7 separate regions of the Homo sapiens genome follow, and all the other regions are linked to region 4. The links are contacts of gene promoters, found by promoter capture Hi-C in blood cells and fetal thymus (Javierre and others, 2016). All regions are on one chromosome and are shown on one strand. Each heading gives the region's core, a stretch centred on a gene start or on the middle of the fragment in contact. The rest is flanking DNA. Distances are from core to core; before and after follow the strand shown.

The links. The method cuts DNA at HindIII sites, captures the fragments that hold promoters and counts their contacts. A CHiCAGO score of 5 or more calls a contact.
Region 1: a fragment that was not itself captured here is called in contact with the fragment with the promoter of PSMD12 in region 4 in 9 of 17 cell types (total CD8 T cells, naive CD4 T cells, activated CD4 T cells and 6 more); the score reaches 13.3 in total CD8 T cells.
Region 2: a fragment that was not itself captured here is called in contact with the fragment with the promoter of PSMD12 in region 4 in 11 of 17 cell types (naive CD4 T cells, total CD8 T cells, naive CD8 T cells and 8 more); the score reaches 25.1 in naive CD4 T cells.
Region 3: a contact is called between a fragment that was not itself captured here and the fragment with the promoter of PSMD12 in region 4, in 1 of 17 cell types (M2 macrophages). The highest score is 6.1, in M2 macrophages.
Region 5: a contact is called between a fragment that was not itself captured here and the fragment with the promoter of PSMD12 in region 4, in 3 of 17 cell types (total CD8 T cells, naive CD8 T cells and naive CD4 T cells). The highest score is 7.9, in total CD8 T cells.
Region 6: a fragment that was not itself captured here is called in contact with the fragment with the promoter of PSMD12 in region 4 in 3 of 17 cell types (total CD8 T cells, M2 macrophages and naive CD8 T cells); the score reaches 8.0 in total CD8 T cells.
Region 7: a contact is called between a fragment that was not itself captured here and the fragment with the promoter of PSMD12 in region 4, in 2 of 17 cell types (monocytes and M2 macrophages). The highest score is 7.7, in monocytes.

What each region holds. Positions count from the first base shown.
Region 1 is chr17:67,577,338-67,580,381 of GRCh38, forward strand. It overlaps PITPNC1 (phosphatidylinositol transfer protein cytoplasmic 1), which reads left to right. Exons shown (of 9, transcript NM_012417.4): 5 at 849-920. Among named protein-coding and RNA genes, the nearest start is that of MIR548D2, 110 kb to the left of the region's middle. The HindIII fragment of the contact is 1,462 bases long and covers 557-2,018 here.
Region 2 is chr17:67,609,048-67,612,549 of GRCh38, forward strand. The region is part of intron 5 of PITPNC1 (phosphatidylinositol transfer protein cytoplasmic 1); the gene reads left to right. Among named protein-coding and RNA genes, the nearest start is that of NOL11, 110 kb to the right of the region's middle. The HindIII fragment of the contact is 1,301 bases long and covers 791-2,091 here.
Region 3 is chr17:67,204,959-67,208,158 of GRCh38, forward strand. The region is part of intron 5 of HELZ (helicase with zinc finger); the gene reads right to left. Among named protein-coding and RNA genes, the nearest start is that of HELZ-AS1, 38 kb to the right of the region's middle. The HindIII fragment of the contact is 485 bases long and covers 1,093-1,577 here.
Region 4 is chr17:67,365,251-67,368,720 of GRCh38, forward strand. PSMD12 (proteasome 26S subunit, non-ATPase 12) reads right to left here and starts at 1,327. Exons shown (of 11, transcript NM_002816.5): 1 at 1,162-1,327. The coding sequence starts at 1,269. RefSeq lists enhancers at 1,143-1,202, 1,223-1,532. The HindIII fragment of the contact is 3,672 bases long and covers 1-2,008 here.
Region 5 is chr17:67,525,593-67,528,995 of GRCh38, forward strand. The region is part of intron 1 of PITPNC1 (phosphatidylinositol transfer protein cytoplasmic 1); the gene reads left to right. Among named protein-coding and RNA genes, the nearest start is that of MIR548D2, 56 kb to the left of the region's middle. The HindIII fragment of the contact is 7,724 bases long and covers 1-3,403 here.
Region 6 is chr17:67,498,184-67,501,491 of GRCh38, forward strand. All of the region lies in intron 1 of PITPNC1 (phosphatidylinositol transfer protein cytoplasmic 1), which reads left to right. Among named protein-coding and RNA genes, the nearest start is that of MIR548D2, 28 kb to the left of the region's middle. The HindIII fragment of the contact is 3,249 bases long and covers 430-3,308 here.
Region 7 is chr17:67,162,796-67,166,288 of GRCh38, forward strand. All of the region lies in intron 15 of HELZ (helicase with zinc finger), which reads right to left. Among named protein-coding and RNA genes, the nearest start is that of HELZ-AS1, 80 kb to the right of the region's middle. The HindIII fragment of the contact is 1,343 bases long and covers 1,235-2,577 here.

The sequences.
Region 1 (3,044 bases), core at 38-2,537, 210 kb after region 4:
AGCACTATGGGAGGCCAAGGTGGGCAGATCTTTTGAGCTCAGGAGTTCGAGACCAGCCTGGCTAACATGGAGAAACCCTATCTCTACTAAAAATACAAAAATTAGCCGGGCTACACGGAAGGCTAAGGCATGAGAATCACTTGAACCTGGGAGGTGGAGGTTGCAGTGAGCCGAGACCACACCACTGCACTCCAGCCTGGGCGACAGAGCAAGACCCTGTCTCAAAACAATAAAAAATAATAAAATTTAAAAATTAAAAATAAAATTTAAAATTTAAAATAAATTTAAAAATTTTTTTTATTTTACTTTAAAAATAAATTTATGTTTTAAAAATTAAAAATAAATTTATGTTTTAAAAATTAAAAATAAAAGCCAGGTCTGTCTGACTTCAATAATCTATGACTTTAAAGTTCTACTATATCCCCTTGCTAATGTTATATGAGCATTTATATAAAGATTAAGGCTGGGTCCCCAGGAATCCAGCAATGGTAGCTGCTCCCCAAAAGTAAGCTCACCAGAACTGGAACTGGCGTGATTTAGGGGTTTGCTTTTCTAAAGCTTATGCTAGGAGTCACAGAACATATTCCTTTTGGAAATGTTCTCTTCAGGGACTTGCCCTCTACTGCTGGTTATTCTCTGTGGCCTGACCTCTGTCTGGATGAAACTGTGTTCATTGTCCTAAAGGCGGCTTTCCTTTGTCTGAATTTGGATATTGACTTAGTATCTTAACATTTCTGTTCCGGGACGGTGCTTGCAACCAAATGGCCAGGAAAGTATTCAGAAGCTCTGCTGAATATAGGAAGAGAGAAAAAATGTTATGCTAATGAAAATTTGCTTTTCTCCCACAGTGTTCCTTTCTGCCGAAATTCTCCATTCATATAGAAACCAAGTATGAGGACAACAAAGGAAGCAATGACACCGTGAGTAGCCCCTCCTTCCATGCTGCGCTCGCCTCGTGGGCTCTGAATATCACAGCACTTCTCACAGCCCCTCTGTGACCAGGGCCAGCAGTGGGACCTGTGCCTGGGACCTCAGAGATGTTCTGGCCTTTGGCTTCTGAGGGTTATTTCCCTGGGACTTTTCCCTGGAATTCTTTTGTTGTCTAGCTTTTCTTTCTTCTCATTTTTATGTACTTTCCCTGGGCCTCTGAGCAGAAGCCTCTGACCTGGGGTGATTGTCATGGAGGTGGAGAGGATGACAGGGCACTTGGAACTCCAAGATTTGGTTTTTGATCATTGGACAGAGTACACATCTTCTCAATGCCTATTAATATCTACTTCGGAAAGGGAATACAATCAAAGATATGTGTACACAGAAAAGGAAATACAGTCAGATGTATGTGTGAACAGAAAAGGAAATACAGGCCTGGTGCAGTGGCTCACGCCTGTAATCCCAGCACTCTGGGAGGCTGAGGCAGGCACATCACCTGAGATCAGGAGTTCAAGACCAGCCTGGCCAACATGGCGAAACCCTGTCTCGACTAAAAATACAAAAATTAGCTGGGCGTGGTGGTGCACACCAGTAATCCCAGCTACTTGGGAGGCTGAGGTAGGAGGATTGCTTGAACCTGGGAGGCAGAGGTTACAGTGAGCCGAGGTTGCACCACTGCACTTCAGCCTGGGCCACAGAGCGAGACTCCATCTCAAAAAAATAAAAAAAGAGAAAAGGAAATAGAATCAGATATGTGTGTGCATACTGCATGCATGCTTACTTACACACATGCGGTGTATGTATACACCCACACATCCTACCTTAAAATCAGGGGGTACCCCCACAAAATATTTACCTCCTGAGGCATTCTGACTTTTACTAAATTTCAGCCAAGTATTTTGCTTATTAGTGTTGGGTAAAACCCATCTTCTGACCTGGCTTTTACCCCCAGGCTCTTTCTGTTTGGGCAGTAAATTTCTAACTTCTCTTTTCTTTGGGGGTGACTGTTTTGACCTACCAAAAGCCTCACCTGGGATTAGGCTGTGGGTTCCCTCAGGACCCGTTGAAAGGAAGAACCTGGATCTAGAAGCTTCGGGGCTTCCCCAGAGTTCATGGAACTTCCCAGAGGAGAGAAAAATACAGCTGGCAGCAGTACTATCCTACCACTCTGTTCAGGAACCCCATCGTTAGTGTCTCCTTGAAGTGGCAGCCCAATGGGAAATGTTTAGGGCCATTTTCCTGTCACAGCCTGAAATCACAGGCGCGTTGCTGGCCAAATTCATCAAAACCACCATGCCTAAAACAGTGTCACACTGTGTTTCAACTTGAATCCTTGTAAAATAGTGATTTTTTTTTTTTTTTTTTTTTTTTTTTTCTGATTAGAAAGCAGCCTGGGCGCGGTAGCTCACGCCTGTAATCCTAGCATGTTGGGAGGCCAAGGTGGGCAGATTGTCTGAGCTCAGGGGTTCAAGACCAGCCTGGGTAACATGGCAAAACCCCATCTCTACTAAAAATACAAAAAATTAGCCGGGCGTGGTGGCGCATGCCTGTAATCCCAGCTACTCAGGAGGCTGAGGCAGGAGAATTACTTGAGCCTGGGAGGCAGAGGTTGCAGTGAGCGCAGATCGCGCCACTGCACTCCAGCCTGGCAACAGAGCGAGACTCTGTCTCAAAAAAAAAAAAAGTTAATACATGGCTATTCAAACTTGGAGAATGCAAAAAGAAAGTATTGAAAAAAGAAAGGAAAAACCAATAGCAATCCCACAATTTAGAGATGACTTCTGTTAGCAATTTGGTTCATGTTGCAGATTATGGACAAATTTATTTTTTAACCAATTCCTCCTGAATTGAATCATATAGTATGTTATTTTTAACATGCCCTGAAGTATGCTTCCCTATAATGATTTTTCCTGGCTGTACCACCTTCCATATTTCAGTGTACTTCTTTAAACAATTGCTGGTCACTGGATATTGAAGTAAGCTTGACTCTTTTCACGTAGCTGTGGACTCTCATGAAAAGGATAATAAAGTTCAGTTGCTTGAATTGCTTTTCCTGGCATAATATGAAAATATGGGGGAATTTTTTTTTTCTTTATAAGACAGGGTCTCGCTCT
Region 2 (3,502 bases), core at 191-2,690, 240 kb after region 4:
GACAGGGTCTTCCTATGTTGCCCAGGCTGGTCTCGAACTCTTGGGCTCAAACTATCCTCCTGCCTCAGCCTCCCGAAGTGCTGGGAACACAGGCATGAGCCACTGTGCACAGCCTTCCCTGTATTTTATTTTCTGGCCTTTGAGAAGACTTTAGCCTCCCCTGGTTTCCCAAGCTGTGTTCATCACAGAGCTGGTGTCGGAGGCCTGGTGGGAGAGTTGGTCATGTTCTTCTTCTTCTTCCTTTTTTTTTTTTTTTTTTTGAGACAGAGTCTCACTCTTGTTGCCCAGGCCGGGTGCAATGGCGCAATCTCGGCTTACTGCAACCTCTGCCTCCCGGGTTCAAGTGATTCTCCTGCCTCAGCCTCCCAAGTAGCTGGGATTACAGGCATGCGCCACCATGCCCGGCTAACTTTTGTATTCTTAATAGAGACGGGATTTCACCATGTTGGCCAGGCTGGTCTCGAACTCATGACCTCAGGTAATCCGCCCACCTCAGACTCCCAAAGTCCTGGGTTTATAGGCGTGAACCACCGCACCCAGCCAGTCATGTTCTTCTAAGCACTGGAGAAAAAAGGACAGCTGCCTGTGCTGAAAAGTCACCCCAAGAGAGAGCAGGAAGAATCCCAAAGCAGAGGCGACAGTGGACTCTTTCTATCCTGTGCTCTGAGTCCGGCAAACTGTTGATGAAGCCCTCACGGGGTCATTCACAGCAGAATTGGATCTGGTTAGATCCAATTCCAAAAAAAAAAAAAGCCACATCCCTTGGATCCAGGTTTGCTTTTTGTACCCAAGCTTGGGCATTCCATTTGGATGGTTTTACCTCTTAAATATTACATCCATCCTACTTCTCCATTCCGGCTACCATGGCCCTAGTTAAGGTGTTTATTTCTTTTCTAGAGCAATCTCACACTAAACCCATATCTCCCACAGAGCTATCTGCCCAGGGAATCCACGTAGACTTCAAATCTGATCATTTTCACAGTGACTGGCACCCAAGACCTTCTGTCGCCCGGCCACTACTTTCCTCTGTCGTTCCGCTATTCCATGCTCCCTGCCTCAAACATAATATGCCCAAAATATCAGGTCAGGATACGAGAGTGTTAAGTGCCAGCATTACCTGGGAGCTTGTTAGGATCTCAGGCCCCACCCTAGACCCACTGAATCGGAACCTGAATCTAAGCAAGCAAGATTTCCCAGGTGTTGTGTGCGCATGAAAGCACCGGAGGCACTATCTAGAACCTGCTGGAAGGGCCTGTTCTGTGCAAGGAACTTAAGCTGCCCCTCAGGCTCTGTGGTCCTTGGCACTGAGGCAAGATTCTCAAAATAATCTCTGATTCAAGGGATTCCGCTCCGAAAATTACATTGGAAATTGTTTTTCCTAATTTGCATAAATAAATAAACTTAGTAAATGGGCTTCATCTGATTTTTACTTTTTTCTCTTACAAATTCTTTTCTAAACTTTGGGCCAGGCGTGGTGCCGGCACACATCAGCATTTTGGGAGGCTGAAGCCAGCAGATCACCTTGAGGTCAGGAGTTAAAGACCAGCCTGGTCAACATGGCAAGACCCTGTCTCTACTAAAAATACAAACATTAGCCGGGCGTGGTGGCTCACGCCTGTAATCACAGCACTTTGGGAGGCCGAGGTGGGCAGATCACAAGGTCAAGAGATTGAGACCATCCTGGCCAACATGGTGAAACCCTATCTCTACCAAAAATACAAAAATTAGCTGGGCACTGGGGCATGCGCCTGTAGTCCCAGCTACTCGGGAGGCTGAGGCAGGAGAATCGTTTGAACCCGAGGGGCGGAGGTTGCAGTGAGCCGAGATTGCGCCACTGCACTCCAGCCTGGCGACAGGGTGAGACTCTGTCTCAAAAAAAAAAAAAAAAGAAAAAGAAAAGAAAAAAATATTATTTTCTAAACTTTGACATCTGCTGCTACTTGTTGGCTAACAAGATGTCATCTGCTGGCAAACAAAATGAGTAAACTACTAGGAAATAAATGGTAATGTTAAAATTCAACATACCTGGTGTTCAGTCTAACAGTTCAGTTCAACAACAGCAAAAAATAAAAATTAAAACTTTGAGTGTTAAGCTTCTATTAATGTATGAGATACTAGAAGAAGGTCTGAGGGATGCATAGATGAATGAGATATATTGTATAGCTTATTCCCCATGACTGTAAGGCCACATGTGCCTGTAGTACTGGGGCACTGAATGGTACTTCAGCAATGACCATCCTTTTATTAGAATCCTTGGGATGCTACTAGTCTGGATTTGCAGAATTCACCAAAATGAATGACTTTTGCTATTACCTGTCAAGTTGATTTCATCTTCTGTGTCCAGACAGCTATCCAAACCAATATAACCAGGAAATTTACTCTGGATTCCTCAGATCAATAGATGAATGGTTTTGTTGTTGTTTTGTTGTTGTTTGAGACGGAGTTTTGTTCTTGTTGCCCTGGTTGCCCAGGCTGGAGTGCAGTGGCGTGACCTCAGCTCACCGCAACCTCCGCCTCCTGGGTTCAAGCAATTCTCCTGCCTCAGCCTCCCGAGTAGCTGGGATTACAGGCATGTGCCACCACCACACCCAGCTAATTTTGTATTTTTAGTAGAGACGGGGTTTCTCCATGTTGATCAGGCTGGTCTTGAACCCCCGACCTCAGGTGTTCCACCCACCTCAGCCTTCCAAAGTGCTGGGATTACAGGCATGAGCCACCCGGCCAATGAATGGTTTTTAAAACAAAAATCACAATGAGCCTGTTGCCTTTTATTGGCTTTGGTTTTAGGAGGAGAAACTTTAAAAGCTTGGAGTTGAAGGATAATGGTTCAACCTTTCTTGGCGTGTAAGTGATTTATGACCTCCTAATTTAACGAAAGTAACAACAGCGAAGACAAGCCACTTATTAGCGTTTCCTGGCAATTCCATCAGGGAGATAGGGGTTGGGGCCTTGAGAGCCCAAGAATTAAACAACAGCTGAATGTTATTCAAAATCTAAATTCATTATACACATTGTTGCTTTACTAAAATCTTTACTAAAATGTGATCAAGAAAGCCTTGGCAGGGCACGGTCTTGAAAGATGAGTACCAACTCATCTTGGGCAGGCAGATATCTTGCCAGGCAGATAGGGTGGGGAGAGCCTTCAGGGCAAGGGAGGAGCAAGGGCAAGAGTCTTGAAGGCTGAAGAGTGAGCAGGATGTGGAGAGGAAGTTTCAGGCTCCACAGGGTCATGGGGGCAGGCCCAGAGCAAGGAAGAGAGAAAGGAGGGTGATCCAGGGAGGTGAGTTGATGAGAGGAGGCAGATGTACTAAGTCCATACATGAGTGCAGTATTTGACAGTTTGCAAAGCACCTTCATACCCACTATCTCACCAGGTCCTGCTAGCTCAGTGATGAGGTGGGACACCTAACGTCCTCACTTCCAGGTGATGAAATGGAGGCCTGGAGGAGTTTCTAAAGTCGTACAACTCCTAAGTGGTGGAGCCAGGATTAGAATGAGATAT
Region 3 (3,200 bases), core at 85-2,584, 160 kb before region 4:
GACCCTCAGTGTGGCCATCTGTAAAACAGAAACACGTATAAATTTGCCATTAAAGATTAAATGAAACAATACAAGTAAAATGCTCTCGCCAGGCATGGTGGCTCATGCCTGTAATCCCAGCATTTTGGGAGGCCGAGGCGGGCAGATCACCTGAGGTCAGGAGTTCAAGACAAGCCTGGCCAACATGGTGAAACCCCGTCTCTACTAAAAATACAAAAATTAGCGGGCATGGTGGCAGGCACCTGTAATCCCAGCTACTCGGGAGGCTGAGGCAGGAGAACCGCTTGAACCCAGGAGACAAAGGTTGCAGTGAGCCAAGATCGTACCACTGCACTCCAGCCTGGGGGACAAGAGCGAAACTGTCTCAAAAAAAAAAAAAAATTGCTCTGAAGAAAAATGACACTCCTACTAAGGTATGGATTAGTTACATCGCTAAGCCTATTTCCTCCCCTATCAAACGGAGGTGACAGTAGCTACTTCATAAGGTTGTGGTAAAGATTAATTATGCTAATTAGAAAAGTAACTAGCAGTCTCCTGCATAAGTAAGAATTCCCTACATATTACCTTCCCCTTCTAAAAATTTTACAGCAGTACTGAGCACTGCTGAGGAAATATCTTAGTTCATTTTTAGTAACTGGGATATTAAGAAACTAGTTGTCAAGAGCTGAAAAATGTTTGCAGGAATGAAAAAGTCTAAGAGTATTTCAACTTCATATGATGATGTCATACTTAAAGAGTATTAAATCACATAACATTTTACAAACAGGTTTCATAGATCTTTGGTTTTGTATGAGGTATTTGCTGAATTTCATTTTGCAAGTTTCTTCCACTACATTGCTGTATGAATATCTTAATATTTGTCAAATTTATGTTTCCCTTTTTTCCATCTCTTTTTCAGACAAGAAGCAGTACTGACATACTTTCTTCCTGTTCCCCTTAAATGAAATTCAATTTATGTATGGGAGGATCCCATATAAAAAACTATGGCATAGAAATAGTCAATAACTATAGATAAAAACCTCTCCTGCTACTGTATCGTATAACAAAATTAAATTGCAATGCTGCCAATCTAGTTCCTTATTACCTTGAAAAAGCTTGGGGGAAAAAAAGTATGGCCTACTGTATTATTAAACTTGTCTCGGCTATAAAAACTGAACTTGCCAAAAGACATGACATTAATAATACAATCTTGAACAATTATAAAAAAGTTACAGCTCCTTGCAGATAAATTCTCTTCCCATCAACTATGTGTGAGAGTGTACTGTGCGCACACAACTGTTCTCAAACTGAATTGTTCCTTTCTGTTCACTAGGAGTTACAAAGGAGGACTTCTGTCAGCTCGCTGTGTATCTTTTTTGTGATATTTTCTAACACTTGAAATATGTCTTACTTAGAATGTTTTGGATTAGAAACTGAGTAGACTTAAAGGAGTAATATTCATTCAACTGTTTTAGCAAAATACATCTTTGCTGGGGTTCCATAGCCTCTGGCTATCACAAGGCAAGGATTAACAATTAAAATGCAATTCCCTTTGCTTGTAAAGAATTACCTAATATAAGGAAAGTAATCTTAAAACAAGCTTATAGTAAATGTTGAGTACATATTCTCTACTGTTTTCAGTAATATGACCATATTAGGACTTTTTTTTTTTTTTTTTAAGACGGAGTTTCACTCTTGTTGCCCAGGCTGGAGTGGAATGGCGCGATCTTGGCTCACCACAACCTCTGCCGCCCAGGTTCAGGCAATTCTCCTGCCTCCAGCCTCCCGAGTAGCTGGGATTACAGGCATGCGCCACCATACTCGGCTAATTTTGTATTTTTAGTAGAGACGGGCTTTCTCCATGTTGGTCAGGCTGGTCTTGAACTCCCGACCTCAGGTGATCCACCCGCCTCAGCCTCCCAAAGAGCTGGGATTACAGGCGTGAGCCACTATGCCGGGTTTTTTTGTTTTTTGTTTTTTTGGGTTTTTTTTGAGACAGAGTTTCGCTCTTGTTGCCCAGGCTGGAGTGCAGTGGTATGATATCAGCGGACTGCAACCTCTGCCTCCCAGGTTCAAGCGACTATCCTACCTCAGCCTCCCAAGTAGCTGGGATTACAGGCATGCGCCACCACCCATGGTTAATTTTGTATTTTTAGTAGAGACGGCGGTTCTCCATGTTGGTCAGGTTGGTCTCGAACTCCTGACCTCAAGTGATCCGCCCGCCTCTGCCTCCCAAAGTGCTGGGATTACAGGCATGAGCCACCACGCCCGGCCTTTTTTTTTTTTTTTTTTTTTTTTTTTGAGATGGAGTCTCGCTTTGTTGCCCAGGCTGGAGTGCAGTGGCATGATTAGGCTCACTGCAACCACCGCCTCCTCAGTTCAAGCGACTCTCCTGCCTCAGCCTCACCAGTAGCTGGTATTACATGCACGTGCTACCACACCTGGCTGATTTTTGCATTTTTAGTAGAGACAGGTCTTCACCATGTTGGCTAGGCTGGTCTCGAACTCCTGACCTCAGGTGATCCACTCACCTCAGTCTCCCCAAGAGCTGGGATTACAGGTGTGAGCCACTACACCCAGCCTAGGTTATTTCTTTTATCAAATCCTTAGTTACTTCTGAAGTGTTTTATTAAAGAGCTTAGCCTAATGAAGGTATTTTTTCCAAAAACTTTCCTAAAAATTTTTTTCATTACCATACAAACTAAATCCTTTAGTCAGTAATGATATAAAATCACTCACTGCTTAGATATAATCATGCTCTCAGAACTAACAATTCAGAAACTGAATTTAAAATGAAAATAAAGGCCGAGCCTATAATCCCAGCACTTTGGGAGCCTGAGGCAGGTGGATCACCTGAGTCCAGGAGTTCGAGACCAGCCTGGCCAACATGGCAAAACCCCATCTCTACTAAAAATACAAAAATTAGCCAGGCATGGCGGCGCATACCCATAATACTAGCTTCTTGGGAGGCTGACTGCTTGTACCCAGGAGGCTGAAGTTGCAGTGAGCTGAGATCACTCCACTGCACTCCAGTCTGGGCGACAGAGCAAGACCCTGTCTCAAAACAAAAACAAAAAACAGCATGGATGGATCTCAAGAGGACCATGGTGAGTGGAAAAAAGCCATCTGAAAAGGTCATATGCTATATGATTCCATTTCTATAACACTCTCAAAGTGGCAAAATTAGGGAGATGAAGAACAGATTAGTGGTTGCCAAGGGT
Region 4 (3,470 bases), core at 77-2,576:
GTGAGGGCACCAGCTCCAGAATCTAGAATCGGTCTGCCTGGGTTTGCTTCTTGGCTTCACCACTTTACTAGCTGTATGATCTTGGGGCATGTGATTCAACTTTTTCTAGCCCAAGTTTTCTTACCTGTAAAATAAGGATAATAGTAATAGCCATCGCATAGGGCTGAGGTGAGGATCAAATGGCTTAGTGCATGTAAGCACGGTGCCTGACACTGCAGAAACTACTCAACAAATATCAGTTATTGTTATCTGTCTGGCATTGGAGGCGGCTGAGTTTTCCCACCCTTATGTAACTGATGTTTGTTGATGCTAGCTGCTAGAAAGCTCTTAATGAATTTGTGGCTCCCCCTCAGCAAGCATACTGAACCTAAGATATACATACGTACCAACTTTATCACCTTTCTCCATCCTTGTTTCTTGGAAAGCCCGTTAAACTCTTATAGTGCCTACTTGTCTTTACTTCTGTAGTTCCGTCTTCAGTAATGACTCCACCCCACCTCAATCTTACTAATTCCTCAAGACCCAATACAAACGTCAGCCTTCCTGTAAAACCTTCCCTTATGGCACCATTAAGAATGCATAGCTTCCTTCTCGGTGTTCCAGTAACACTTTCCCCTTGTATGGCCCTCACCACCATGCATGACTTGACTAATTCATCACGTACATCAACTCCTAAAGGACAGGGTCCTGTGTTAGTCATCTTCGTACTATCACTTTCCTGCCCCTTCTCCTGGCCAAAGACCAGGCACATAGCCATGATCCACAAACGATGTAACGACATAAATTGATTGAGCAACAGCAACAGAACGAAACTCTCTGATCTAGCCTTAATACTGAAGCGGCCTTAACCCCTGGGAAACTACTAAGGTAAATATCACTTAAACAGCATCCAAGAAACGGCAAAAAGTTAAACGGAGCCCTAAGTCCCACGGAGGGAAGTGACCATCTGTTTTGGGGAGGGTCTGGGAAGCTATAGGCGCTGGCGTACTCCGCAGCCCTGGCCGGGCCGACCTGGGGTCTCCCACTCGTGCAGGCCCAACTAGGGCTGGACAGGCATTGGGGGGTGCACGCTCCAGCCCGCAGGCCCCCTGAGGCCTAAGCAGGCTCCGCGCCGTGACTCAGCCCCTGGCGCCCGCCAACAGCCAGCCGGCCTCTCCTCACCTTGGCTAGCTTCGCACACTCGGGTAGGCGCTGATCCACCGTGGCGCTGTAGTCCACCTCCATCTTGACGATGCGCCCGTCAGCCCGCTCCGAGCCGCCGTCCGCCATGGTCCCCGCCTGAGCGTCCCTTGCTGTCCCCCTGCTTCGGCCACCACTCGTCACCCACACCGGAAGTTGCCCGCGCACCCGCTCAGGCAGCCCATCGGGAGCCCACGCAAAGGACCCCTCGAGGTCCCCGGCGCTGGTTGCCACTCAGGCACTGCCGCGGACAGCCTGGGGGTGGGGCTTGAGGCGCGCGGGGCGGGACTCGCCACTCCAGCCTGCAGCGTCAGGTTTTGTCTCTGGGAACATCAGACTTTTTACCTAAAATTTGCGATGAGAAAAGCGAGTGTAATAGAACAGACCATCTCATATATCCCTACACCCCTGCTTCGAAATATGATTTCTCAGGACCGTGGCCAGTCGCTTTTCTTGGATCTCGGTTTTCTCATCTCTACATCAGGAGGCTAAAATAAACCTTAAAATAGAAAATTCTAAGGTTTTATCTACTTGAGAATCTTGGTGGCTTACTCTGTGGGATCTCTGAAAGCTCCTAAGAGAAGATATGGCAGCAGCTCAGTCATTTAATAAGCAAAGTGGTTTTTCTCTTTGTTTTCATTTTCACTGTAATCCACTAAGTTGGTAAAAAGAAAAGTTAAAAAGACATATTTGTTATCCCTATAGGATTTTCGTGAGCATCAAACTAGATGACATGTGAGACAATTTCAATTCTTAAGGGCCTTACACGTTTTATGTGTTATCATTCATACCATGCTGGTCCCTAGAAAATAGCTTGAGATCTTAAAAAAGCTTAGGATCCTTGAAAATGGGAATGAGGCCGGGCGCGGTGGCTCACGCCTGTAATCCCAGCCCTTTGGGAGGCTGAGGCGGGCGGATCATGAGGTCAGGAGATCGAGACCATCGTGGCTAACACGGTGAAACCCCGTCTCTACTAAAAATACAAAAAATTAGCCGGGCGTGGTGGCGGGCACCTGTAGTCCCAACTACTCGGGAGGCTGAGGCAGGAGAATGGCGTGAACCCAGGAGGCGAAGCTTGCAGTGAGCCGGCGAGATTGCGCCACTGCACTCCAGCCTGGGCGACAGAGCAAGACTCCGTCTCAAAAAAAAAAAAAAAAAAGAAAAAGAAAAGTAAAGAAAATGGGAATGAGGTTGTGTTTGGTGTGGGCATATGGTCAACAGCAGCCTGGAAAGCAAACAGGAAAACGGGAAATCTTGGAGTGGTTTATCTATTATGTTAGTGGTTCTCAATTTAATTAGTGCCGACATCGCTTTATAGATGCTGAATAGATCTCTTTGTTTGTTTTAACTGCAATGAAAATCAGGGAAAATATAAACCATCTACAAGCAAAATAAGACAATATCTCAGCTATAATCTGTAATGTAGAGGAGAAACAAATTTTACCTTTTTTTTATTTTTGTAGAGATAGCAGCTATACTACGTAGCCCAGGCTGGTCTCAAACACCTGGCCTCAAGCAGTCCTCTCACCTTGGCCTCCTAAAGTGCTGAGATTACAGGTGTGAGCCACTGTGCCCAACCAAGAAACAAATTTTAAAATAGCAAAATAATATATATTTCAAGAGATAAGGGCTAAAACATGTCTACAGTGGAAAATACAAGGAAGTAGTTATTTACACCCATACACAATAACTATAAATGTAAAAGCTGCAACTGCAACAGGTGTGTTCTCTTGGTTCCTGAAGCATGGTAAGGGCCTATTGTTGGTGACATTTTCCAAAATGGTGAGCAACAAGCCACTTCTTGGTAAAGCTCTTATTGTTTTTTTTTTATTTTATAGTCCATCAGATGGGTCTTATGGCTCATGCCTATAATCCCAGCACTTCGGGATGCTGAGGTGGGTGGATCACTTGAGGCCAGTAGTTCAAGACCAGCCTGACCAACATGGCGAAACCCCGTCTGTACTAAAAATGCAAAAATTAGCCAGTCGTCATGGCACGCACCTGTAATCCCAGCTTCTCGGGAGGCTGAGGCAGGAGAATTGCTTGAACCCGGGAGGTGGAGGTTGCAGTAAGCCAAGATTGCGCCACTGCACTCCAACCTGGGTGACAGACGAGACCCTGTCTCAAAATAAATAAATAAATAAACAAAGAAACTTTATAATCCATGACACGCTGAAATAAAGTTCTGACTATATCAACATATAATCTTCCATTGTTTTTCTCATGGAAGAATTCTTAGAAATTTTAGTTGATGTTAAAAGTGAAAGAAAAGTAGCTTGTCGTAAGTAAAA
Region 5 (3,403 bases), core at 218-2,717, 160 kb after region 4:
GTGTGTAATTAGAATTTTGACACCACTTGGCATGAAGCAACGGTGGGCCAGAGTTCTGCGTCATTTATCCTTCAGGTGCTCTCTGCAGTGGATGGTTTGTGCCTCCTGAAGCAATTGCTTCCCTGTGCTTTGAGGTCCAGCAGAGGTAACAGCGGAGAAAGCTGGAAGAAAGGCTTCAACAAAAGCATTAATGGTGATGTGAAGAATGCAGGAAACTCCCAAGAAAGCCAAATGATATCACTCTCTGCTTTTCCAACATAGCCAGTGTGAGGCAGGAATCACACACGTTTCACAGCTGGGTAAATATGTGATTTCACGTGAAATCAGAGGGACAGGTGTTTCTCTGTGCTTGTTAGGTGATATGGCGTCCGCCCATTTTGATGGTAAAGGCCAAAGTAAATATAAATTCTGTTTCCTGACCTGGGGCCTTGAGGTCCCCAGGCGGGGATTACCACCACCCAATTTGGGAATCTACGTTGCAAAGCCATGGTTCCCGCTGTTCACATTGTGACGTTTGGAAATGGTATTGGGACTAATGGAGGGAAAGAAAGAGGACAGGAAGGGAGGGCATAGAGATTGGTTGGTAGGAAGATGACCCCCACTAGGTGCTTTAGGGTAGGGGGTTATGGAGGCTGGCTTTGCAGAAACTCTGGGACGCAGCAGTTGGGGAAGGGTGAAGTGAAAATCAGTGATAGCTTAGAGCTCTGCTGACCCTAGAACTTTGGATCCAGTATTTCTTCAGGCATGGATGATGTTGAAGGTATTGTTGGCACTCATTTGATAATCCCTTACTGTACTCAGAAGTTTTGGCTTGGGGTTGCCTTTTTAATTCAAGGTTCAAGATTAAATGACTTGGCTGGGTGTGGTGGCTCATGCCTATAATCCCAGCACTTTGGGAGGCTGAGGCGGGAGGATCACCTGAGGTCAGGAGTTCGAGATCAGCCTGGCCAACCTGGTGAAACCCCGTTTCTACTAAAAAAATAACAAAACTTAGCCAGGCATGGTGGTGTGTGCCTGTAATCCCAGCTACTTGGGAGGCTGAGGCAGGAGAATTCCTTGAACCTGGGGGGCAGAGGTTGCAGTGAGCCAAGATTGCACCATTGCACTCCACCTGGGCGACAGAGAGCGAGACTCCATCTCAAAAAAAAAAAAAAAGTTAAATGACTGGATGGTGCCCCATGTAAGAGTTTGCAAAAGTTCAAACTAGTGAAACTGCTGAGCTTCTTCAGTACATTATGCAACTCTGCCTTGCCTCCAATTTTGCAGCTCTATCAAGTGTACAGCGTGGTGTGTGGGGAAAGATCTGCATCCCATGATGTTTTTGACTATGGAGGTAATTATTTGGAGTAGCTGTTCTGATGATAACTCACGGAGGTTCAGTCTGCAGCATGGAACTGTCTCTAGTCATGATTGCCTGTAATGATGATTACCCAAACTCTGGAATTATAACAATAGATTTTACAAAGTTAGAGCATAATTGCTCCACCATTCCTTACATGTGCACAGATTAAACAACTTTGATCTTTCAATCAGATTTTTGTTACTCATCTTCTGCAATAGCAAAGGTCAGAGGCAGTAGCTTTCTGCCACCTCCCTCCCCTCTTTTTAAATCATCACGAGGCCTAGATTTTTAAAGCATTTAACTTGGTAAAGAAATAAGGGCTGAAGTTGTGTGGACTAGAATGAGTACAGGCCTGTGGGGGGTCAGAATCCCAATTCTGACATCTAGAAACTCTGTAACATACAGTCTTCAACCTGTCTGCAACTCAGCTTCCTCGTCTGTCAATACTCACTTGTCTGAATCATTGAGAGATTAGAATGAACATAGGCGGCCGGGTGTAATGGCTCATGCCTGTAATCCCAGCACTTTGGGAGGCCGAGGCGGATGGATCATGAGGTCAGGAGTTCGAGACCAGCCTGGCCAACATGGCGAAACCCCGTCTCTACTAAAAATACAAAAATTAGCTGGGTGTGGTGGTGGGCGCCTGTAACCTCAGCTACTGAGGAGGCTGAGCAGAGAATTTCTTAAACCCAGGAGGTGGAGGTTGCAGTGAGCTGATATCTCGCCACTGCACTCCAGCCTGGGAGACAGAGCGAGACTCCATCTCAAAAACAAAAAAAAGGAATATAGGCTGGGTGCAGTGGCTCACGCCTGTAATCCCAGCACTTTAGGAGGCCAAAGTGGGAGAATTGCTTAAGGCCAGGAGTTGGAGACTAACATAATGAGACCATGTCTGTACAAAAGTAAAAAAATAAAAATTAACTGGGTGTGGTGGCACACTTCTGTAGTCCCAGCTACTCAAGGGGCTGAGGCAGGAGGATTGCTTGAGCCCAGGAAGTCGAGGCTGAGGTGAGCCATGATCATGCCACTGAACTCTAGCCTGGGTGACAGAGTAAGACCCTGCTGCTTTTAATTTTTTAAATTATTTATTTTATTTACTTAGTTTGTTTTTGTTTTTGTTTTTTTGAGACAAAGGCTCCCTCTGTAGCCCAGGCTGGAGTGCAGTGGCGTGATGTCGGCTCACTGCAACCTCCACTTCCTGGGTTCAAGTGATTCTCCTGTCTCTGCCTCCCGATTAGCTGGGATTACAGGCGTGCACCACCACATCCGGCTAATTTTTGTATTTTTAGTAGAGACGGGGTTTTGCCATGTTGGCCAGGCTGGTCTTGAACCCCTGACCTCAGGTGATCCGCCTGCCTCGGCCTCCCAAAGTGCTGGAATTACAGGCATGAGCCGCTGCGCCCAGCCAGACCCTGTCTCTTTTAAAAGAAAGGCAAAAGAAATATAAAGCACTTAATCAGTGCCTTGCACTAATGGGCAATCAATAAAGTGATGCTGTATCATCATCATCAATTCTACGATCAATTCTCAGGCTTTGGAGGCTTTAGAATCTTTCTATGTCTTTGGATGTTGTGGCCTTTATTCAACATACAAGTTTGTTTGGAGCTGGTGGTCAGGGATATGGTATTTTCACTAAGTTAGGGATGGAGCTTTGTAAGAAATCAGTATAAAGGAGGAAAAAAGAAACAAGCGTCCTAAAGACAGAACATTTACAGCTGAGCAAGTGCTGATGGCTGCCTTCACCACGTTCTGCTGCAGCGGTTCTCAGCATTTATGTGCATTTCTGAAAGATTCCCACTCTTTTCTCCCCAGAGTCTGAATGGAGAAGGTCTGGAACAACCTGAGATTCAGCATTTTTAGGAGTGTCTCTGGAGATTTTGAAACACGTGGTTCAAGGACTCTCTGTCTCTTCTCCCTCCCCCAAACGAGAAACTGCTGCTTGTGTCTGAGAGTCAATACGAGATTTAAAAACAGCAACAAAACCACTGCTCCTGGAATGGCCCAGTTCCCATGGCCACGACCAGCAAAGTGGGCCTGATTTCCTTAGGAGGGGAAGAAGTG
Region 6 (3,308 bases), core at 804-3,303, 130 kb after region 4:
ATTATCCATGTGTATATCATCTTCAGAAACTGGCTCCCTCATATCTCTTGCTTATTATTTCCTTTTGGGTTATCTTTTTAATTAATTTAGGAACTCTTTATATATTAGCAATATTAATCTTTAATATTGGCCGGACATGGTGGCTCAGGCCTGTAATCCCAGCACTTTGGGAGGCCGAGGCGGGCAGATCATCTGCAGTCAGGAGTTCAAGAAAATACTCCATTGTATGTATATACCATATTTTCTGTATGCATTCACCTATTCATGAACATTTAGGTTGTCTCCAACCCTTGGCTCTTGTGAATAATGCTGCAATGAACTTGGGTGTGCAAATATCTCTTTGAGGTCTTGTTTTCAACTCTTTTGGGTATATAACCAGTAGTGGTATTGCTGGATCATGTGGTAGTTCCAGTTTTAATTTTGTTAGGAAGCTTCGTATTGTTCTCCATAGCGGCTGTGCTACTTGACAAGCTCATCAATGGTGTGCAATGATTCCAGTTTCTCTACGTCCTTGCCAACACTTGTTATTTTCTGTTATTTTGATAGTGGCCTTCCTAACGAGTGTGAGGTGATATCCCATTGTGGTTTTGATTTGCATTTCCTTGATGATTAGTGGTGTTGAATATCATTTCATATACTCATGTACTCACTAGTCACTTGTGTATCTTCTTTGTTTTTTTTTTTGTTTGTTTTTGTTTTTTTTTTTGAGATGGAGTCTTGCTCTGCTGCCCAGGCTGGAATGCAGTAGCACGATCACGGCTTATTGCAACCTCTGCCTCCCAGGTTCAAGCGATTCTGTTGCCTCAGCCTCCAGAGTAGCTGGGCTTACAGGCACCCGCCACCATGCCTGGCTAATTTTTTTGTATTTTTAACAGAGACAGAGTTTCACCATGTTAGCCAGGCTGGTCTCGAACTCCTGACCTCCAGTGATCTGCCTGCCTCAGCCTCTCAAAGTGCTGGGATTATGGGCATGAGCCACGTGCCCAGCCCGTATATCTTCTTTGAAGAAATATCTATTCAAGTCCTTTGCCCGTTTTTATTTATTTTGAGAAGCAGAGTCTCGCTCTGTTGCCCATGTTGGAGTGCAATGGTGTGATCTCAGCTCACTGCAACCTTCACCTCCTGGGCTCAAGTGATCCTGCCACCTTAGCCTCCTGAGTAGGTGGGACTACAGGCAAGTGCCACCATGCCCGTGTAATTTTTTTATTTTTTTGTAGAGACAGGGGTCTCACCATGTTGCCCAGGCTGGTCTTGAACTCCTGGGCTCAAGCAATCCACCCTCCTTGGCCTCCCAAAGTGCTGGGATTATAGGCATGAGCCACTGTGCCCGGCCAGCCTGAGGAATCTTAGGAAACAAAGTAAAGACCTTGGCCTGAATAGCTGGTCTGCTACCTCCCTACTTCCTACTGCCCAGAGGCAATTACAGTCATGCACCATATAACAATATTTCAGTCAAGGAAAGATCGCATATATGATGGTGGTCTTATGAGATTATAATGCTGTATTTTTACTGTACCTTTTCTGTGTTTAGATACACATACACTTATAGTTATGTTACAGTTGCCTACAGCATTCAGTACAATAGCATGCTTTTCAGGTTTGTAGTGTAGAAGCAACATAGGTGCGTAGTAGGCTACACCATCTAGGTTTGTGTAAGAACATTCTATGATGTTTGCACGACAGAATCATTTCACACATTTCTCAGAACATATCCCCATCGTTAAGCAATGCATGACTGTACATCTGTTCTTAGTTCTTCCATTGGTGAGCCTCCATCGTTTTAAATAAATGCATATACTGTATGCTCTTTCTCAATGTATCAGTTTTAGAATTATCCATCTTCTCCCCTTGAATATATAAGTAGGCTGCAGAGGATTTAGTTTGCTTGTACTGCTTCTCAGCTTATCTTCTTCTGATGGTTAATCATTTTAAACAATTAGTTTTAGTTCTCTTAGCTACCTCTAGTTATTGCATTTCTGTCTCTGTTTCTTGTTTTGTCAGTTTTCGGCAATATTCTCTTTCCTTTCTAAATAAAACATTAAGGCCTTACCCTTTCATTTTTCTCCCTTTTACGTTGTCCAAATTCTGGATAAATGAATATGGTATATCCATAAATGGGCTATTATCTGGTAATAAAAAGGTATGAAATTCTGATATATGCTACAACATGGATGGACCATGAAAACATCATACCCAAGTGAAAGAAGCCAGACACAACGAGCCACATATTACATGATTCCATTTATATGAAATATCCAGGATAGGCACAGAAAGTTGATGAGTCATTGCCAGGGGCCTCGAGGAATACCATTAACTGCTTATGGGCACCAGGTTTCTTTTTAGGATAAGGAAAATGTTCTGAAATTAGATAGTGGTAATGGTTGTAACAACCTCATGAATATACTAAAACCCACTGTATTCTACACTTTAAAAGGACAAATTTTATGGTTTGAATTATATCTCAATTTTTTTTTAAGATTTTTTTTTTTTTTTAATTGAGAGAAGGTCTCACTCTGTCAGCCAGGCTGGAGTACAGTGGCACAATCACGGATCATGGCCCATGGCTCACGGCTCACTGAAGCCTCAAACTCCTGGGCTCAAGTGATCCTCCCACCTCAGCCTCCCGAGTAGCTGGGACCGCAGGCGCGCACACCACCACACTTGACAAAATTTTTTTTTTTTTTAAGTGGAGACAGGGGTCTCTCTATATTGCCCAGGCTGGTCTCAAACTCCTGGGCTCAAGCAGTCCTCCCATCTCTGCCTCCCAAAGTGCTGGAATTAAAGACGTGAGCCACTGCACCTGGCCAAAAGAAAGATTCTTAACTGTTACATTCCATTTATTCCATTTTCTAATCTTAATATCTTTAGCTTATTTCTGAATGTTGGACACCAGTAAACAACATTTATTGTCGCTGTGTAAACATTGCCCACTGCAGGTCTAGGTGCTAATGTCATATTATTACTTTCTCTATAGGACCAATGCCACAATCCACAGGCCACCTAGAGGATAGCATTTCATGCATCGCAGTTCGAGTGAATTCTCTTTTCTTATTTACCATCGACTATTCCTTTTGTGTTATCCTGGAATTCCTTCTTGCTTTCTTTTTCATATAGACCCCAAAAATACACTTTCATCACCTAGTGCTGTAGATGCACTCCGGGTTATATGACATCTCCTTACTTCTCAGCCATCGTCATCTGGCTCCAATCTACCAGCCTGTCCTGTCTCCTTCGCTGCCTTGTCTCAACATTTTATTAAATTTATTTCTTCCTCTTTTTTGTTCCATTCCCTTATTTTGCAACCTTTT
Region 7 (3,493 bases), core at 656-3,155, 200 kb before region 4:
CCAGGAAAAGTAAATAAACTACAGCAGCCATCTTATATTTTGCATGAGGCAAAACACATCAGGAAGAAAATGAACATGCCCTACATAGTAGAGGAGGGTGAGGTGTCTGTCCATGATGGCCCTGCAGAGCTCCTGCACAGCCCTGGACCACATATCTCTAGGCTGATAACTCCACCTTTTAAAGCCACAATCAGTTCAGTAAACTGCTACTTCAATCTATACCTGACCACTGTGATTCTATGATACCTGCCCCCAATGGTTCCTTTATCTGTGCATGAAGATAATGACATTTGCATCAGATGGTTATTTTAAAGATCAAGTGAGATAATACATGTAAAGCTGTTTAGAAAAATAATTGAGCAACAAAAGCTCAATTAAGGTTAGCTTGTTACTACAATATTTTATAGAGATTACAGAAAAATGAGATATTACTTGACTAGTACATGCTTTCAAAGCAAAAAGTTCTTAAAACATCCTTTCATCTTTCAAATCTGAGGACTTTAATGAACTTAAGAATGAGACAGATATCATGATAAACATTTATAGAAAGCCAATGAGTGGAACAACTTGTATTTATTTATCAAATTCTTAGAGACCCAACTTAGTATCTTTTTCTTTTTTGAGACAGAGTCTCGCTCTGTCGCCCAGGCTGGAGTGCAGTGGCGCGATCTCGGTTCACTGCAAGCTCTGCCTCCAGGGTTCACGCCATTCTCCTGCCTCAGCCTCCCGAGTAGCTGGGACTACAGGTGCCCACCACCACGCTCGGCTAATTTTTTTTTTGTATTTTTAGTAGAGATGGGGCTTCACCATGTTAGCCAGGATGGTCTCGATCTCCTGACCTCGTGATCCACCCACCTCGGCCTCCCAAAGTGCTGGGATTACAGGCGTGACCCACCGCACCCAACCTATTTATTTCTTTATGTATAGAGATGGGGTCTATGTTGCTGAGGCTGGACTCTAACTCCTGAACTTAAGCAATCCTCCCACCTCGGCCTCCCCAAGTGCTGGGATTACAGGTGTGAGCCCATTACCATTACAACTAATAGTTTCTCAGTATGTTCCTAGACCCAGATACCTTTTAATTGCTATTTAAATTACAGTGGTATAAAAATCTTTTCCTGCTTGAAAGTTTGCTTACTTTTGCAGTTAAAACTTACAGTCAGTAGTATTTAAATATACTACATCATATACAATGTAATTTTCAGAAGTGAGCATATCAAGAAAAATGCCTAAAAGCTTACTGGTATGGCCTTACAATTGAAACTTTTCTTCTTTAAACTCGAAATTCTTATGAACTTAAATGTGCCGAATATGAATAATATGTAAAACCCTGTTGGTATTCAAAGAAAAATAAGACGCAGTCTCTTCCTGTACAAAGCTCAGAGTTTACCCAGAAAAACTGTCTAGAAATGTTCACGAATTAATTGATAAACTGAGAGAAATTATGCTTGAAAACACAAAACTGAGCCTAGCGCATGTCAGGCACTCAATAAATAGTTGTTAAAATATTGACATGGAAGGGTCAGGTTCATCTGCTTGAGGAAGAGAGCATATGAGCTGGACTCAATCTTAAAGGATAGAGAGATCTTCAGTGAATTAACATTGGGCAAAGATTATATGAGAGACAGAAAATCACTTAAAGAGGAGGCAAGGCTGCAGGAAGGGGGAAATGAGTTGTCCGATGGGTGTATAGTATCAGTTCTGCAAGACGAAAAAGTTCTGGAGATTGCACAACAGTGTGACTATATTTAACACTATGGAATTGTACACTTAAAATGGTAAAGAGGGTACATTTATGTTATGTGGATTTTACCACAATTAAAAACTTTTTAAAAAGAATAACATAAAGATAAGGAGGCAAATAAGTACAGGGCAAATTAAACAAACTTCAAGGTAATTCAACATTGCTAAAACATGAGAGTTTAGAGGGAGAAAAGGAGTGTCAAGTAGAAAAAAGTAGAAGAAATCTGAAAGGATACTGCTGGAAAGCACAGTCAACGAGGCCATACACAGGCGCTTTGGCTTAGACTGCTCACCCTTTATCTACATATCAAGGAGAAGCCATCAGATTTGTGAGCAGTGAAATGACATGATTATTTTAGAAAACTAACTCTGGGAGAAATATTTGTGATGAGCCAGAAAACAGGGCCACAGACAACAGGACAAAAGGCCAACTAGAAAGCTACTGAAATAGTCCGGGTCTAAAAGCAGCACTGGCTCTGAGAATGAAAAGAAAAGGAAGCATGAAGAGGAGCTGAATCCGAAGAGAACTGGGAGATGTCACTGGATTTTTACAATCAGTAGATCACCAATCACTTTCAGGATAGTACACAAGAGGAAAACAGAGGTTACAGAGTGAATAAGAAAGAATACTGGAAACACGCAGACTATTCCCTCTCAAGAATTTTGGCACTAAAAAGAACAGAGGGGACTGCACAGTAAGAGTAAGCAAAACAAGGGAGAAATGACTGAGGTTTTGTGTTGTAACGCATATTTCGTGTTGTTCTGTTTTTAGGACCAGAAGAAATGGAATGTGAGGGGAAGTGATATATACCACTCCTAGGCCTGGCCCATAAAAGCTTCCCACGTGACCCTCCGTGCTCACTCTTCCCCTGTCGGCCAGCTGAACGTCAACACCCAGGGTGACCCTGGAAACCACTTACTAAAGATCCCAGAGGCTCCATTAGTCTTGGAAAGGGCCATCCTACCATGATTGAATTGACACAGTGATAAATAAACTTCTATTTTGTAGAGCCACTGAGATTAAAAAAGAAACAAAGGTGTTGTGAGTTGAGCATGGGCAGGTGCTAAGGGCATAAAACCCAGTGAAGAGATGAAAAGACAGATGCAGGCATACAGCTCTCACTGTCATCCATGCTTATAACAAAATGGAAGTACCTTCTTCATTACATGTAAAGACATCCCAAAAAAATTTAAGCAGAACAATATTTATACGACCATTAACTGGAGAGCAGTTTCTGAAGTAGTTTCTTCTATCGTACTTCATCCATTTTGATAATTTCTAAAAATCTCTCCTATCTTTAAAAATTATTTTAAATTAGGACATGTGTAGTAGCTCACATCCCAGAACTCTGGCAAGATAAGGCAGGAAGGTCTCTTGAGGCCAGGATTTCGAGACCAGCATGGACAAGACAGCAAGAACCTTGTCTACAAAAAAAAATTTTTTTTAATCAGCCAGACACAGTGGCATGTGTCTATAATCCTAGCTACTCAGAGGCTGAGGCAGGAGAGTTGCTTGAGCCCGGGAGTTCAAGGCTGTAATGAGCAATGATCATGCCACTACACTTCAGCCTGCATGACAGAGCAAGACCCCAACTCTAAATAAATAAATAAAAATTATTTTAAATTAACTACTGGAACCACTTTAGAAAGGCCCTAATTTCCCCATTCAACTTCTACTTGGAAATATTCCTAAATTGCTTGGCATCCTATCAAATTAAGGCTGTTGAGAAAAGCAGTAGAATTCATTTAG